Linked DNA regions of Homo sapiens: region 1 is linked to region 2. Evidence: promoter capture Hi-C in human tissues and cell types (Jung and others, 2019). All regions are on one chromosome and are shown on one strand. Each heading gives the region's core, a stretch centred on a gene start or on the middle of the fragment in contact. The rest is flanking DNA. Distances are from core to core; before and after follow the strand shown.

Region 1 (2,700 bases), core at 200-2,699, 540 kb before region 2:
CTAAAAGGAGTGCTTAAAAGAGTATTGTCTAAGTTGGTAACAGAGTTGGGGAGTTTTAAGAGGTTTAGAAGCCTGGCCGTCAATACCCACAACAGTTATGGAGGCAAGGGAAACAGGCCCTTGAAAAGAAGGCAATGTGGAGTGGGTAGCCTCCGTATTGATTAAGAAGGGGACGGACTTAGCCTCCACTGTGAAAGTTACTTAAAGTTCGGCGTCCGTGATGGTCTATGGGGCTTCCGAGGCGATCGGGCAGCGTCAGTCTTCAGCCGCTAAGCCAAGAAGATCTGGGAAGGAGTCAGAGAGCCTTCGGCCAGAGTTCCAGGGGCTCTGAGAGTGGCTGCCAGGTGAGTTGAACAGTCTGATTTCCAGTGGGGTCCTGCACAGATGGGACACGGCTTAGGAGGAATTCTGGGCTGTGGGCATTCCTTGACCTGGTGGCCAGATTTCTGGCACTTGTAGCAAGCTTCTGGGGGAGGCGGGCCTGGAGGAATGCCTGGCCACTGCGGTTTAGGCGTTGGGAAGTTCTTGTGTGCTGGAGATGTGGCTGGGGTTTGTCTCACAGTGGAGGCAAGGAATTGCAACTCAGAAATATGTTGCTATTTGGCTGCCTCTATTATTGTACACCTTGAAGGCGAGGTTAATTAAGTCCTGTTGTGGAGTTTGAGGGCTGGAATTTAATTTTTGGAGTTTTATTTAATGTCAGGAGCAGATTGGGTAATAAAATGCATATTGAGAATAAGATGGCCTTTTGACCTTTTAGGGGCTAGGGCTGTAAAGTGTCTCAGGGTTGCTGCCAAACGAGCCATGAACTGGGCTGGGTTCTTATATTTGATGAAAAAGAGCCTAAACGCTATCTGATTTGGGATAAAGAAAAAGGAGCATTAACCTTGACTATGCCTTTAGCTCCAGCCACCTTTTTAAGAGTAAATTGCTGGGCAGGTGGGGGAGGGCTAGTCATGGAACGAAACTGTAAGCCGGACCCGGTGTGAGGAGGGGAGGTGATAAAAGGATTATAGGGTGGAGGAGCAGAGGCTGAGGAAGAATTGGGACCTAGCTTGGCCTGGTGAGGAGCAGCCTGGGGAGGAGGGGAGAGGTCAGATGGGTCTGTAGAAAAGGAAGATTAGAAAGACTCAGCGACACTTCGGGTTGGGACTGAGGGGACAGGCGGGAGGGAAAGAAGGAAGATTTGGGGTGAGTTGCATTGGGCACAGACTAGGGAGGGACTGATGTGTAAAAGAATGCCTGGATATCAGGCAGCTCAGACCGTTTGCCTATTTTACGACAAGAATTATTTAGATCTTGCAGGATGGAAAAATTGAAAGTGCCGTTTTCTGGCTATTTGGAACTACTGTCAAGTTTGTATTGCGGTCAAGCAGCATTGCAGAAGAAAATAAGACATTTAGGTTTTAGGTCCAGCGTGAGTTGAAGAGGTTTTAAGTTCTTGAGAGCACAGGCGAAGGGAGACAGAGGAATGGAGGGTGGAATGTTGCCCGTAGTGAAGGAGGCAAGCCTAGAGAAAAGAGAGAGTAGAGACACGGAGGAAAGGGGTTCGGGGGTTCTTAACTTCCAGAAAAGCGTGAAAGGGGTCGGGGCATGGAAATAAGGGGTTGGGGCGCAGAGATAAGAGGTCGGGGTGTGGAAATAAGGGATGGGGCACAGAAATAAGAGGTCAGGGTGCAGAAATAAGGGATTGGGGCACAGAGATAAGAGGTCGGGGCATGGAAATAAGGGATTGGGGGTTCTTGCCCCTTAGAAAAGTGGGACTTGCTGCTAAGGGTGAGGGAGAAGGGGTTGAGGGGTTCTTGCCTCTCCCCCAGAAAAGCAGAGAAGGGGTAGAGACACGGAGAGAAGGGGTTGGGGTACTTGCTCCTCCCCCAGAAAAGCGGGACTTGCCGCTAAGGGTGAAGGACCAAGGCAGGCATCCTTGCATGGTCTGACACCTCTGAAACGTGGGTGAATAATCAGACAGGTGTCCCTGCAATGATTAAACACCAAGGAAAGCCTGCCTTCCCAGTCCGTGACCGACGCTGGAGTTTGGGTTCATGGATAAAACGTGTCTCCTTTGTCGCTACCAGAAAATGAAAGGAATTGAAATTAAGAGAAGGGAGAGATTGAAGTGTGGTGCCAAGATTGAAAGGAGAAAGAGGTTGAGGGATAGTGAGAGAGGTTGGAGAAGACAGTAAAAAGAGACTGCTTACTCGATTTGAAATTGGTGAGGTGTTTCTTGGGCTGGTCGGTCTGAGGACCTGAGGTCGTAGGTGGATCTTTCTCACAGAGCAAAGAGCAGGAGGACAGGGGATTGATCTCCCAAGGGAGGTACCCTGATCCGAGTCATGGCACCAAATTTCATTCGCGTCCGTGTGAAGAGACCACCAAACAGGCTTTGTGTGAGCAATAAAGCGTTTAATCACCTGGGTGCAGGTGGGCTGAGTCCGAAAAGAGAGTCAGCGAAGGGAGATAGGGGTGGGGCCGTTTTATAGGATTTGGGTAGGTAAAGGAAAAAGGGGGGTTGTTCTCTGGCGGGCAGGAGTGGGGGGTCACAAGGTACTCAGTGGGGGAGCTTTTGAGCCAGGATGAGCCAGGAGAAGGAATTTCACAAGACAATGTCATCAGTAAAGGCAGGAACAGGCCATTTTCACTTCTTTTGTGGTGGAATGTCATCAGTTAAGGCTGGAACCAGCCATCTGGATGTGTACATGC
Region 2 (2,700 bases), core at 104-2,603:
AAATTTGAAAAAAGAGGAGACTTTATTTCTTATAAAAGGTTATAGCCTGCAAGGAGGCCATTCCATAGGCTGATAAACATAGCCTCTGGCCTAAGACCAGAGACAGGCACTTGGAAGGCAGAGGGGTTGGGGTAGGAGCTTTATGCTGAACAGTTTGGCCAAACATACATACGTAACAGGTTACAGGAGGAGCTATGAATATTAATGGAGGTGGTCCTTACACATGCATATTGAACAAACATGCATGTAACATGTTCTCTTTGGGGTGGAGACTTAACATTTAATTGTATTACTTCAAATACATTTAAATGTATTACTTCAAACCTACACTTCAAAAGGTCTTTTCAGGACGTGAATGCATACAAGTGCACAATCCCTGTACACTGGCCAGAACCGGTCCATGGTCGGTCTTCTTATCATGAAAAAGTTCCTGAAATCAGCCCAGTGAAAGCTGTAGTTCTGGCTGGTGCAACAGGGGTTCAGCTGGTCAGCATCTGTGAACTGATTAAGTTGTAATTGTTTTAATATTGCTTATCTCAAGCCAGTGCTTGTTTAGCCTCTAGAGGAAAAGAAAACCTTTGTGGCAGTTAGACCATAGTTTATTTCTTAAGTGTAGGAGTGTGTGACTTAGGTCCTTTTTATAATTTGATGTCTTATTGCTACAAAGAGTCTGTTCTGTCCGCCTTATGATTTCTATTTTAAACATTAATGCTAGTCAGCTGTTGAGTCTAAATTCCAAAATGGAGGGGGTAGACTTCCCTTCCGGCTGTAGCTAGAAACTCAGCTTTAAGGTTTTTCTGGGGTCTGCTTGGCCAAGGAGGTCCATTCAGTCAGTGAGGGGCTTAGGATTTTATTTTTAGTTTACACCACCTTACAGGTTCCTCCTTAACACCCTTTGATGTCAGAGACAGCCAATTCTCCAGCACTGTGGCTAAGGAGGCTTCGTTAGTAGTTAAAAGCACACACATAACCCTACCCAACGGATCCCTCTCTTCTCTTAACCAAGAGGGCGCACCACTGCCCTACTCAACCTCCCCACAAATAAGGACGAGACACGGGAAGTGTTAAAAGCAAGTGGTGAGTATAAAATCCTCGGAATTTTCTCTTTGAGCAACTAACTAGGTCTGTTACTGAAGCCCTCTGCGAGCTTGGATGCTGGACGAGGGAGAGGGTGAGGCCACCAGGCAATGAGCGCCCTCGGCGGCCGCGTGATCCCGGGGGTGGGGCCCATTTCTGAGTTGGGGCCAGCTCCCCACCCCCAAGAGGCCCCACATTCCGGGCCAGCAGCCCAGAAAGTCCCTCCCCGCAGGCGGAGACAGCCCCAAGAAGTCGACGCCCCGGTCCCGCCGCCCGGCCACTACCCAGAGGGCTGCCGCCGCCTCTCCAAGTTCTTGTGGCCCCCGCGGTGCGGAGTATGGGGCGCTGATGGCCATGGAGGGCTACTGGCGCTTCCTGGCGCTGCTGGGGTCGGCACTGCTCGTCGGCTTCCTGTCGGTGATCTTCGCCCTCGTCTGGGTCCTCCACTACCGAGAGGGGCTTGGCTGGGATGGGAGCGCACTAGAGTTTAACTGGCACCCAGTGCTCATGGTCACCGGCTTCGTCTTCATCCAGGGCATCGGTACTGGCACCTCCTGGGGGGGTGCGGGGAGGAAAGCGGGGAGAACGGCGGGGGCAGAGGGTCCTCCGTGAAGCCCCTTCCAGCTGAGGAAGTGCTGGAGGATCGCGGGGCCCGGAGGAGTGCGGTGAGGAGCGCGCGGGAAGCCAAGTCGGCTGGGCGGGAGGGAGGCTGGCTGGCTCTGGGGCGGGACAGAGCTGCGGTTCAGGAGGATCGCCGCGAGCGCGGGGCCGGGGGTGCGCGGTGGAGACGCGCTGCTGGGGGCGGCGGAGCGGGGCCGGCCCCACTTGGTTAACTCTTTGCGGCGACTGGCTAGGACGCACTGGAGGGGCCTCCAAGACCCAGAAACTTGAGCCCGGGCGCGATGCCGGAGCGCCGCGCAGTCGGGCCGCTGCAGCCCACGCGCCCCGGAAAGTCGCCCCTGTGGACCGAGCCTGCGCGATCGGGGGCGCGGAAACACTTTCGCCTCAGCCTTTTGCTGAACTTGCTTCCAGGCTGCAGATGAGGAGGGGAAGGCAGCGGGGAAAAGATTGCCGGAGCGAGAATTTGCCCGTATTTGTAACATCCTCGGCCCTGGGTAAAGGGGCTGGCCAAGGGGGGCGAGTGAAGCATCCGCCCTGGGTTCCTCTCCTCCTAGAGTGTTAAACTCAGTCGAGTCCGGGAAGCTGCCAGGACTTCCAAGTGTGTTTCGCCGCCCTGCCCAGTCATTGGACGGTCTTGAGCCCGACTTGTTTATGTGGCAGAAGAGTGGCGAAAGTTCCCCCGCGGGGCTTCCTATTGGGCACTGGCCCAGCACTCCGGGTGGGAGATGCCCGGAGAGGGCCCGCGGCTGCCTGGCACCGAGGGATGCCTCTGCTCGGGATGCCCCCGGCGCAAGCTGCGTCCGTGTTTGGCCCGCGGCGAGCCAGCCCCGGGCCTGCATTCTCTGGGCTGAGGCTGGCGCGGGGGAGGGGCTCAGCAGTCGCTGGCAATGTTTGTTGTCATTGTGTAGTGCCTCTCAATGTCCTGACTGCTTCCTTCGGTTTGCCGTGTAGCTGGAGGAACCTCTAGCTTTTGGCGCAAACACCATTTATTTGTAACCACTT

What was found. Contacts are between HindIII fragments. The study calls those that stand out against the background at their distance.
Region 1: a contact is called between a fragment that was not itself captured here and the fragment with the promoter of CYBRD1 in region 2, in 1 of the 25 tissues and cell types used here (H1 embryonic stem cells).

The regions. Positions count from the first base shown.
Region 1 is chr2:170,980,640-170,983,339 of GRCh38, forward strand. No RefSeq gene overlaps it. Among named protein-coding and RNA genes, the nearest start is that of GORASP2, 53 kb to the left of the region's middle. The HindIII fragment of the contact is 3,070 bases long and covers 1-2,700 here.
Region 2 is chr2:171,521,121-171,523,820 of GRCh38, forward strand. CYBRD1 (cytochrome b reductase 1) reads left to right here and starts at 1,354. Exons shown (of 4, transcript NM_024843.4): 1 at 1,354-1,618. The coding sequence starts at 1,426. RefSeq lists an enhancer at 1,443-1,552 and silencers at 1,663-1,772, 1,923-1,992. The HindIII fragment of the contact is 9,103 bases long and covers 1-2,700 here.